Linked DNA regions of Homo sapiens: all the other regions are linked to region 4. The links are contacts of gene promoters, found by promoter capture Hi-C in human tissues and cell types (Jung and others, 2019). All regions are on one chromosome and are shown on one strand. Each heading gives the region's core, a stretch centred on a gene start or on the middle of the fragment in contact. The rest is flanking DNA. Distances are from core to core; before and after follow the strand shown.

What was found. Contacts are between HindIII fragments. The study calls those that stand out against the background at their distance.
Region 1: a fragment that was not itself captured here is called in contact with the fragment with the promoter of CT62 in region 4 in 3 of the 25 tissues and cell types used here (IMR-90 fibroblasts, adrenal gland and heart left ventricle).
Region 2: the fragment with the promoter of LARP6 here is called in contact with the fragment with the promoter of CT62 in region 4 in 2 of the 25 tissues and cell types used here (heart right ventricle and liver).
Region 3: a contact is called between a fragment that was not itself captured here and the fragment with the promoter of CT62 in region 4, in 4 of the 25 tissues and cell types used here (H1 embryonic stem cells, aorta, lymphoblastoid cells and 1 more).

What each region holds. Positions count from the first base shown.
Region 1 is chr15:71,577,432-71,580,131 of GRCh38, forward strand. All of the region lies in intron 7 of THSD4 (thrombospondin type 1 domain containing 4), which reads left to right. Among named protein-coding and RNA genes, the nearest start is that of THSD4-AS2, 110 kb to the right of the region's middle. The HindIII fragment of the contact is 5,390 bases long and covers 1-2,700 here.
Region 2 is chr15:70,852,578-70,855,524 of GRCh38, forward strand. It overlaps LARP6 (La ribonucleoprotein 6, translational regulator), which reads right to left and starts at 1,580. Exons shown (of 3, transcript NM_018357.4): 1 at 1,312-1,580. The coding sequence starts at 1,511. It also overlaps a transcript of LRRC49 not described here. RefSeq lists an enhancer at 969-1,470. The HindIII fragment of the contact is 12,354 bases long and covers 1-2,947 here.
Region 3 is chr15:71,524,220-71,527,109 of GRCh38, forward strand. The region is part of intron 7 of THSD4 (thrombospondin type 1 domain containing 4); the gene reads left to right. It overlaps LOC107984716 (a long non-coding RNA gene), which reads right to left and starts at 379. Exons shown (of 3, transcript XR_001751787.2): 1 at 1-379. The HindIII fragment of the contact is 4,601 bases long and covers 1-2,890 here.
Region 4 is chr15:71,114,068-71,116,880 of GRCh38, forward strand. It overlaps CT62 (cancer/testis associated 62), which reads right to left and starts at 1,437. Exons shown (of 4, transcript NR_168260.1): 1 at 857-1,437. It overlaps THSD4 (thrombospondin type 1 domain containing 4), which reads left to right and starts at 1,404. Exons shown (of 18, transcript NM_024817.3): 1 at 1,404-1,631. RefSeq lists silencers at 1,218-1,267, 1,304-1,481, 1,328-1,387, 1,418-1,557, 1,708-1,797. The HindIII fragment of the contact is 8,632 bases long and covers 1-2,813 here.

The DNA of each region.
Region 1 (2,700 bases), core at 76-2,575, 460 kb after region 4:
GGCTTGACAGTTGTAAAATACGAGGAGGATAGGAGACTGTGAGGGGGTGAAAGCCAGTTTTCAGATTCACAGAGGCTGGAAATAAATTTGGTATATGGGGAAGCTTTGGAGATGGAGAAATGCTTTCGAAACTGTGAAGTACATACTATGAAATTATGTCTCTTTGGTTTACAACCATTTGGCGTTACTAAAACTTTCACTTGATGCCCTAATTCAGCTCTAAGGGGTCTGTCTTGGCATTTATGAAAGCCATTGTGGACTGGTGCAACCTTTATTTATTTATTTTATTTTATTTTATTTTATTTTTGAGACGGAGTCTTGCCCTGTTGCCCAGGCTGGAGTGCAGTGGCATGATCTCGGCTCACTGCAACCTCCACCTCCTGAGTTCACGTTATTCTTCTGCCTCAGCCTCCCGAGTAGCTGGGATTACTGGCGCCCACCATGCCTGGCTAATTTTTCGTGTGCGGTTTTAGTAGAGGTGGGATTTCACCATGTTGGCCAGGCTGGGCTCAAACTCCTGTCCTCAGATGATCCGATGGAGGGAGGCTGCTACTCTCTACCATTTCCTGTGTGCCTCCACTGTGGCCTCAACCCTGGCAGTTAAAGCCACTGCTCCCTTCCCCTACCTGGCATGTGTGAGCCCTTCTCACTGGATTTTATACCCTTGTGTCTGTGTACATTATCGATCTATATAGTATATATATACATTATATCTATCTATATAGTATATATATTCATTATATATATAATGAATATATATACACACAATTGATAAATTGAATATATATATAAACTCTGCACTGGTGCATCTTGTAAGCGGCAGTGTAGACTCCAGGTGGTTATCTTGGCAGTGGGGTAGCTAGCACCAACATCTGGCTGAGTGCCCTTCTTAACAGGTGACTCGAGGTTTGCTAATTTATAGCAAGGATGATGCTCATTATGATGTCAACCTGTTTGATAAGTGTCATGTCATTTGGATTCTGCCATTGATTTCTTTTGACTTTATTTTTTTAATGGTTAAATTATATAAACTTTGTATAATGTAATCCATAAACATGCTTTGTGACTTTGTGACTTTCTTTTTTGGTGGTGACAGGATTTCGCCATGTTGCCCAGGCTGGTCTCAAACTCCTGAGCTCAGGCAATCCACCTGCCTCAGCCTCCCAAAGTGCTAGGATTATAGGCGTAAGCCACCACGCCCAGCCTATAGTATACTCTTAAGTGTACTCTTCTTAAGTGGCCTACGACGAGCAGGTAAACAGCCATTCGATAGACTAAATAATAAATAGAAAATACTTGTTTAGGTTATATTGTGATAATATATGATAGTAAATAATGAACACTGTTTTAATGATATTTGGTGTTATCTTTGCATACATTAATTTGACTTGGGGGACTCTGGACTGCATTAACTTTTTTTTTTTTTTTTTGAGACGGAGTCTTGCTGTGTCGCCCAGGCTGGAGTGTAGTGGCACAATCTCGGCTCACTGCAAGCTCTGCCTCCCGGGTTCAAGTGATTCTCCTGCCTCAGCCTCCCGAGTAGCTGGGACTACAGGCACCAGCTATCACACCCGGCTAATTTTTTGTATTTTTAGTAGAGATGGGGTTTCTACGTGTTAGCCAGGATAGTCTCGATCTCCTGACCTCGTGATCCACCCACCTCAGCCTCCCAAAGTGCTGGGATTACAGGCGTGAGTGCATTAACTTTTTAATCAAACTAGCAGTAATTATGTTTTCAGTTTAAGATAAGTTGCCTTTATAAATTTGGGGATAAATTGGATTTAGGTAAGGCAGTGTTATTACTTTACTTCTTTTGTATTCTCCATAACAGCTGGCTCTTCATGGTTGTACAGTAGCTATTGTTAACTTGCTTGAGGCCAGCTGTGTGTGAGCATTACCGAGAGCCAGAATGTCCTCCTGAGAAGGGGCTCCTCACGCCTGTTCTCATGATCATCTGCGTAGCAGAAGCCTATGGAGTTCCGATGAGAAAGGGAACTGGAAATCCCTTTGAGTAAACAAGTCCCCAGAAGAGGGAGAGCATAGGTGTGAAAAATAATAATTCTACCATCTAAATTCCATTTCTCAGCCTTAGTTAACACAGGTCAGAAGATCTGTCATTTGATTAAAGTCACTTCCCTGGGACTGAGAAAAGATTGCTACTGTACTCTTGAAGGGTGATTCTACTCCACTCTGTAGTAAATGCCTCCACATGGTAGATCCCCTCAAATTGGGTCATGTATCTCTCCTCTGCCCTCAACCCTTGGGTTTTATTTCCCATTTATAGCTTTCAAAATATTGGAGACACCATGGTTTGGAAGGTAAAACAATAGCAATGAGAGACACCTGTTTATAAGTAGAGCAATTAAAAACCTAGCTGGTGACCAAACCTGCCCAACTCTATGTATATTAGTTTTCTATCACTATATAACAAATTACCACAAATTTAGTGGCTTAAAACACATAAACGGTGGGGTTTTTTTTTTGAGGAGGGTGATGCTCAGCATCGAATGACGAATTTGTCATTCACCTAGCATTTATTAAGCAACCACAGGATGCAAATTACACTGTGACTAATTGGAGATATTAAAAAATCACATAATAATATCCTGCTCTTAAGAAATTTGTGCTTTCCCAAGAGAGAGTTTTCAAAAAAGAATACATGTAATTTGTACACAGCAGGCAGTAAGAAGTATAGATGTC
Region 2 (2,947 bases), core at 330-2,829, 260 kb before region 4:
AGGGGACTGCCTTCTCGAGACTGTGAGCTGTCAGTGACTAAGGGTTCATCATTTTTATGCTCTCGGTACTTGGCACAGAGCTAAACGAATCAGGCCTTGCATTATAAAGCACTGATCTATCTACTTTGTCATACACTATGGTCCAGCTTTCCTGCCCTACCCTGGTGGGCTGACTTTTCTCCCCTAACAACTGTCTCTACTGGTCTGCCCCGAATCTCTGGGTCCAGAAGTCTGACCCTTTAACCTGGGGAAGGGTGAGCCAGTAATAGAGAATGGCTCTGGGCCCAGTATTCTTCCACCCTTGAGTTGAGTATTCTCCCAGTGAAGTAGATATACGCTTGCCAGGACAATCCTGCAGAACCTTAACAGCTAAACGCCTGGGACAGGGTCCTAGAAGAAAGAGAGCTCCTAATAAGTGCCTGTTGGCATCCACCAGAATGTGCAAGTTCTGTCATTTCCCCACTCTCATGTCTATGTCTATGTTTTATCTCCTTTCAACAGCAGGAACAAAACACCAGTCCTTAAGGGCCTGGGCATTAGTGGACAGGAGCCAAGGTGCCTGAGGACAAAGCTCGGGACCCGGGACAAGGTTAAACAAGTGCCATAGCAGCTCCAAACTACCCAAAACCCAGGAACACCCCCCCCCCGCCCCCCGCAAGGCAGCAAGATGATGCAAACATAAAGGTCTGGTGGGAAAGGCTGTGTGAAAATGGGAATCCCCCAGGGCGGAGGAAGTAAAGCAGCAAGTCCTCTATCCGTCTCAAATTACCTTGAAATCCCACCTCCTGGAATCCCCCATCAGCAAGTGTCCGCTGTACCTGGCCTGCTACCACCTAAAGACTGAGCGCAGCCAGCAGGACTGGGAAAGGCAGGGCGATGATGGCAGTGAAGGGTAAGCGGGACCACTCGCAAGGGGAGGGGAAGGCGGGTAGGGATGGACTTTGCGGCGATGGGGAGGTGGTGTCTTGAGGGAGCCCACAGAGAAGAGGCCTCCTCCAGAGGAGGGGGTGGCTTGGATGGCCCGTGAAAGTCCTCCTCCTGGATCCCTGAACATCCCCACGTCCAGGCCCCTCAGATCCCGGCCGCCAGCCCTGGGAGCCTCGGTTGGGCGACGAAGCTGCGGGCTGGGGCACCGGCTGCCTCCACGGGCCGGTTCTGACTCAGGGGCTCGGCCCGGAGCTGCTTCCCCGGCGGCGGGGCTGACTCAACCCCCTCTGCCCGAGGAGTTGTCGCGCGCAGTCAGCGCCCCGAACTCGCGCGCGGCCCGGCGCCCCCTCGGGGCCCACCTCCCGGGCCAGCCGCCGCGCCTACCTGTGCCCGCGGCTCGGCTCCTCCTCGCTCGCGCTGCCCCAGCCGGGGCTGAGGTACCGGGCCGGGTCCCCGGCGCCCCGAGTCTCCGCCCCCTCCTCCTCGTCCTCCAACTCGTCCACGTCCTCGGCCTCCTGGATGGCGACGCGGATCTGCACCGCCGTCTTGGGCCCGGGCCGAGCCTCCCCGCCGGACTGGGCCATGGCTCGCGGGACTGCGGCGCCGCCGGGGTCCTCACGCCGCAAGGCCCAGCCAGCCGGTCGGCAGCGACTGCGACGAGGGGGCGGGGGCGGTGCGAGCGCGCCTGCCGCTCGGCCCAGGGGAGGGACAGGGGTCGCGGCGCCCCGCCCCGCGCCGCCGCCGCCGCCGCCGCCGCCGCCACCACCCCGACCGCTAGTGGAGCGCCCGCGCAGGCGGGGCCTCGGAGGTGGAGGGCGGCTTTCCGGAGCTCCTCCGACGGAGGCCCGTCCCGGAAGGATCCCCGCGACCCCCGATCACTCCCTCCGTCTTTTCGCCGCTGTGGGGCCCCAGCCCGAGAGGAGGTGTCAGGGCTCCCTCCTCCTGCGCCTTCTTTCACGGCGCCGCAGGGATGGGCGCAGCACAGCTGACTTCTGTTTGTGCTTGACTCCGGGGGTGGCAGCCAGAGACCACAGCTCCAGGGGCTTCCAGGCCTCCTGCGTGTCTCCCCCACTGGCCTGCCAAGATCAGAAAATTTCCATCGTTAGTCTCCTTGACATAATAACCACCCTAGACCGCGTCTTAGGAGGTCAGGGGCTTGGCTCCTGCCTTGCCCTGTATCAGTTTTTCTCCAAGTGTGGTTCCCAGACCAGGAGCATCAGCTGCACCGGGGAACTTGTTAGAAATTGAATTCTCAGGGCTCATCCAGACCTCCTGAATCAGAATCTATGATTCAGAACTTTGTGTTTTAACAAGGCCTCTAGGTGATGCTGAAGTTCACAAAAGTTCGAAAGCCGATGGCCTATAGAGTATGCCCTGCACATAGTATGCACTCAGATGTTTGTTGAATGAATAAAGGGAGCTATTGAAATGTCAGGATGTTCTAAAACACTGCCACCTTTTCACGTGTAACTTCAAATTGAGTTCCATCTCACCTCTCCAAATGTGACCCAGAAACTAGGGACAGGAGCATAGAAATGAATAAGACCGGCCGGGCGCAGTGGCTCAAGCCTGTAATCTCAGCACTTTGGGAGGCCCAGGCGGGCGGATCACGAGGTCAAGAGATCGAGACCATCCTGGCCAACATGGTGAAACCCTGTCTTTACTAAAAAAAATACAAAAATTAGCTGGACGTGGTGGCACGTGCCTGTAATCCCAGCTACTCGGGAGGCTGAGGCAGGAGAATCACTTGAACCTGGGAAGCAGAGGTTGTGGTGAGCCGAGATTGTGCCACTGCACTCCAGCCTGGGCAACAGAGCGAGACTCCGTCTCAAAAAAAAAAAAAAGAAAAAGAAAAAAAAAGAAAGAAGGAAAGAAGAAAAAGAAATGAATAAGACCTGAATCTGCTTTCATGTAGCACTTTATTTAGAGCCTTAAACATAATTTATCATATTAATTTGCCACACTGGGACCCCAAAACAACAGAACCCTGGACCAATACATTTGTTTTGATATAGAAAGA
Region 3 (2,890 bases), core at 364-2,863, 410 kb after region 4:
CCTGCCAGCCTTAAAGATAGCCACAGGGACTGACACCAGTAACTGGCAGCTGGCAGAAGCCATTTGCAGGTTTGCACAGTGACGCTCTGACTTTAATAGTCCGTGCAACTGTCCTGTGGTTTGGTTTCTTATTTCTCTGGTACCTTCTTGACAGTAGAAGCTGTTGCTTTAGAGCAGTTGCAGCAAGTATGTTTCACCCAGTGTGCCAACTCTGCTGCATTGGATGGCTGACTCTCATGCTGCCTTGAGAAGGATGCTAAGCTGCAGGAGGCTGCGCAGGAAAGAGTGCTGTAAATGACTTGTAATGTCTGCCATGAGCACAGGAGGAAGATGGAGATGAGCTAAGAGCCCTTCTTGGTTTATGCCTCTTTTTTTTTTTTTTTTTTTTTTTTTTTTGAGACGAGTCTCTATCTGTCACCCAGGCTGGAGTGCAGTGGTGCAGTCTCAGCTCACTGCAAACTCCGCCTCCTGGGTTCATGCCATTCTCCTACCTCAGCCTCCCAGGTAGCTGGGACTACAGGTGCCCACCACCACGCCCGGCTAATTTTTTTTTTTTTTTTTTTTTGTATTTTTTAGTAGAGACGGGGTTTCACCGTATTAGCCAGGATGATCTCGATCTCCTGACCTTGTGATCCGCCTGCCTCGGCCTCCCAAAGTGCTGGGATTACAAGCGTGAGCCACCATGCCCGGCCTCTTGCTTTATACTTCAAAGAACTTCCTTGCCCATGCTCCCTCCCTCCCTTGTCCATGCCTCAAAAGGGGCCAACCAAGATCAGCAGTTATGCATCTTGGATGCAGTCTTCCTGGACTCTTCAATCTTGAGCTCTCACCTAGAAGGAAAATGGTGGTATCAATGAGAGAAATGTAGCCATCAATTTCACAATGAATAATAAAAATAGCTAATATTTACTGAGCACTTATTATGCATCAGGCTCCCTGCTAAGTGTTCTACATGTAATGTCTCATTTAATTCTCATGGCAGCCTCAAGGGATAGGTACCATCAATCATCTAATTGTACAGATGAGGAACATGAGGCACATAGAGATTAAATTACTAGCCCAGGAACACACAGCTAATATGTGCTACAACCAGGATTTAACTTTAAGCATCCTAATGTTAAAACCGACACTCATAACCACTGAACTGCAGATTTAATTATAGACATGTTGGATTTGAAACATTGGTAAGACTTGCAAGTGGAAATATGCAGGAGGCAGAGGAAGATACAGAACTGGACAAGGTCAGGCATGGGCACAGAGCCAGGGAGTGGGGGTGGTTGAAAGGTGCCCACAGATGCGTTTATTCAAACTATGAGTTGAGAGTCAGTTATACAGATGTACAATGTACAGAGAAATCTGCGCAAATGTTTTATGTATTAGGGAGATGTTTTCCCAAGTAATGAGTTAGAAATAACTGACTTTTGTTATGGTCCATGGACAGAACATTCCAACTGTGAGGAAACAGGACGCAGATGAAGAAGTCTGTGTCCTAAATCATGCTGAAAAGTCAGAATCTGTTGGGATTTTTGGAGATACATTCTTTGCATCTCATCTCATCTCAATGGTCTCACAAGTGCAATAGAAAATCATGGTCCTTGGTGAGAGCTGGTGAGAGCTTTGCCTTAGCATCCCCAGCTACAGACTCACCACCTTTCCCATTCCCTGTAGAACCTGAACCCCTCAAGGACAGGGAATGGGTCTCATTCATCCAGGAGCTTCTAACACCCGACACACGCAGACACTCAGTAAACAGTAAGTGAATTAGTAGAACCAAGGAAATAAGAACCGACCCTATTCGGTTACATCTGCTCCTGGATATATTATCAAATTTAGAGTGTTTTCACTGACCCATCACTATTTCATTGTAAATGGCTGAATTTTCCCCCTGTAGGCTGGGGACAATGCCACAATAAATTACTGCCTACTTGAACCGAGTTTCATTTTGTTCTGATTGATTGCCGGTTTCAAGGACCGTCTAAAATCTCAGTTTATGGACTTTACTTCCTGGTGGTTCCCAGAGAGAAATGAGCCTGGATTCCAGAGAATGCAAATTTCTTCAAACTTGCAGCCGGCTTCCAGACTCCCTGCAAAGGTCTCTTAAGCCTCTAAATATTTCCTCTCTTAAATCACACATCACTGGCACAGGCAGAATATTTTCCAGTTACTTCTTTCTTGTTAGGAGAGAGTCGCTTAGAGGTCTACCAAGTAGACAGAAATGCAGTCGTTTTGGCAGTTTTATTGTGCTGTCTTTAGGTTTCGTTTAGTGATTCTTTTTTTAAGTTGTGTTTGGTTTTTTATTCCTGAAAGAAACTATTTCAGGAATAGTTGCACTGGAATATTCCAGGAATAGTCGCTGCATTAGAAACACGATGTTGACTCTCTCTTGGCATGTTTATGGGTGGGATGAACTGCATATGTGAAATGAAGCTTAATCTCTCACTTGTGCAAATGTCGAGACTTTGATTTGACACTTTTCCAATTAGGTGATGTGAATCCCTAGGGCTAGTGTGGTAGCTTATTGTGTAGCAATGGCACACAGGTATTCTGCCAAATTTTGATGTGTATCTAAAATTTGTATTTGATTCAACCTAGAATAGATTCTCTTATAGTGTCTGTTGGACAGTATGCTGAACTGAGCAAGTTATGGAGTGTGGCACAGAATGAGGCACAATTTATGGTGCCATAGCTAAGAGGCACAGTGTCATGTCAAGTTAGTATGTATGAAAAATGACCATTGCCTTGGTCTGAATCTTCCCCAAAATTCATGTTGAAACTTAATCACCATTGCAGTCGTATTAAGACGTGGGTCCTTTAGGAGGTGATTAGGTCATGAAGACTCCTCCCTCATAAATGGGATTAATGCCTTATAAAATAGCCTTCACCCGGGGTT
Region 4 (2,813 bases), core at 187-2,686:
TGTTTGATCAAGTGTGGAATTATTTCATCCCATTGGAACCAGCTCTTGAATCAATCAGAACTGGCTCTGCCAGGCTCCGGGCCAGTAGTCGGTGCTCAAAATGGTGTTTCTTTCTTTGGCCTAATCTCTTGAGTAGCCTCTTTCCCTTTTGTTAATTTTTTTTTTTTTCTGGAGGACAATCTTCCCTGGGAGCTCCCTTCTGCTCCCACGAAGCGCTCTGCACCCAGCCCTGGTGCTGCCTGGCTCTGGGGCAGGGAGCTTGCATTCTGCCACCTCCTTCATTGTCCTCTCGGTATACCTGCACTTTCAAAACAACCCCTGCAGGCAAGCTTTAGAGGCAGCGATAAACAAACAGGCTGACTGAAATTTAGGGAAACGCCTGTATCTGGACAGCCTCTTCAAATATTTGTCACCCCCTCCCTGCTCTGGGGAAAGAAGAGACAGTTCCTCACAGTCACTCTATTTCCTGCCTTCCCAGCTCTGAACACCTTGGCTCGAATGTAAAGAATTTGGCTCTGAATTAGGACTCAAGAAACGGGGCCCTAGCAATTTTCCCTCCATTAACTAAACGCGTCACTTTGGTCATGCCCTTTTGGGGGCAATAATTTCCCAATTCGTAAAATGAAGGGATCAAAGTTTGATTTTTATCATTACTAATGAGAAGAATTATTATTTTTTTGCAGCAGGCTTTTTTTTCCCCAACAAAATATTACTCTGAATAAGACAAGAAAGAATCCCGAACGGCTCTGGCCGTCAGGGTGTGTGTGTCTCCTCCCCATGCTGTCTAACCCCCGTTGGAATTTGGAGGGCTCTTGTCCTTTCCCCTTGGCCTCAGAAGGAGCCCAGCGCGTCCTACCTTGCGTGGGAGTGTGTGTGTGACCAGGGCTCCTTCCTGCCCTTAGAGTCACCGCCCCCTTCTCGCACAGGTTTACAGCACCACTTGCCTCGCCCACTCCCCGCTTTGCCTCCGCCCCATCCTGATGCTGCCGGAATGGCTGTTCCAAATGGAAGGATGCCCGCGTCCGTCCCCTGCCCCAGTCCTTCAACAGGTCCCCACAGACCTCAGGATAAGATGAACGCGGAATTCAGGGCCTGGTCTCAACCGCCCTCTCCCTTTTCCTCTCACTTAGACGACCCTGGCCAGCTGGGCCACTCTCCACTCTCGCCCCCTCCCGCCCTCGTGGCCTCTGTCTAGACCGTACTCCCTCCTACTGGGTGATGTCTCTTCCCCTGGGACCCAGGGACCATCCCGTTGTTGACCTCCGGGGTCAGGGGTGCGGATGGGGGCCGGCCCTTCCCGCGGTCGCCGCCAGGGGGCGGCAGGAGCGGCTCCAGATGACAGCGGGAGGCCGCAAGAGGGGAGGGAGGAAGGACCGAGGGAGCGCGGATCCCGCTCTCGGATCGCAAACTCTGAGCCAGAGCTCTCCGCGCGCGCCTGAACCGCTGGCCGCCCGCGCAGCCCGACGCGGAATCGGGGCACAGCGGGAGCCCGTGCAGGGCGGGCGCGGGGCGGCTGGGCGGCGGTGGCGGCCGTCCATGCGGCGGCGCTCGGGGCTGCCCGGCGCCGGGAACCACGCGGGGGCGAGGCGAGGCGAGGCGGCCGCCGGTCGCTCCGGGACGCGGACCGCCAGGTGAGCAGAGCCGCGCGCCCCGCGTCCCCTGCGCGCCGCCCGCGCGGCCCCGACCCGGCTTCCGCTGCCCAGGCTCCGGCTCCCGCTCTCTGGCCGGCGGGGCGGGCTGGCGCGGGCTACCCAGTGGGTGTGTCCGGGGCGCCGCGGGCTGCGCCGCTCCGGGCTCGGGGAGCCAGCGCGCGCCTGGTCCGTGCGGACGGCTGCGCCTCCTTCTCTGGTTCTCTTCCTTGCTGGGAGTCTTGCTCTGTGCTGGCGCCGGCGCTCATCCCTCCACCCTCGACTCTAGGGACAGTCTTAAACTCTAGGGACAATCCACCTCAGTCGTCCCCGGGTCGGGGCCCCGTGCTCCCCGGGTCGGGTCGGAGGGGACCGGCGAGTGCACACCCAGCCCGTGCGCCCCCCACCTCAGCCTCGCCTCCCTCCCGCCTGGGGCCCGAGAGCCGGGCAAGTCTCGGTCAGCGCTCCTTGAGTCCTGGCCTGGGGCCTCGGATCTGTGTGTCTGTCTGTCTCAGTTTAGTTGCTGCAACCCAGCGAGCGCCTGGAGCCCGAGTGGATGGGTTGTTTCCGCCAACTCTGGACACTTCCTCAAGTGCAGCCTAAGTACCTGCGGCCCCTTGGCGCACTTACAGAAGTAGCTTTTGCACAGCGAGCTCACCTTGGAGCTCTACAGATCTGGAAGTTAAGTTTTCTTTTTATTTGAAATAACATCAGCCCTCACTTGGGAAGGGGATTTTAGGGCGTTCTCGGGCCCACCTAAGTATCTGGAATTTGTGGTCTAGTAAGTTTTTTAAGCAGTCCGCACCCAGCACCGTACCTCCCAGCCTCCTTTGCCGTCTTACTAAAAGTGCATGCTTGCTTCTCTTCCTGTCTCCTTTGCGATCTCTACCACGCTGCGCTTCGCCCTTTTCGGGCTATGAGTCTAAAGCTTGGACGTGGGTAGCAATCATTGGATGCCTGTTGGAATTTGGAATTAGAGAAATAGATACCCGAGAGAGATCTAAGGAATCGCCTTGTCCAACCCTCCTTTCACAGTTGGAGGCACCCAGGACCCCTGACAGTCTGAAGATTTTTCAAGGATCACACAGCTTTTAAAATCCGCGTGTCTTCTACTTGATTAATATTGTTGGAGGTGATGGAGTAACTGGGCTTACTAGGGTCTTACTGGGTCTCAATATACAAAGA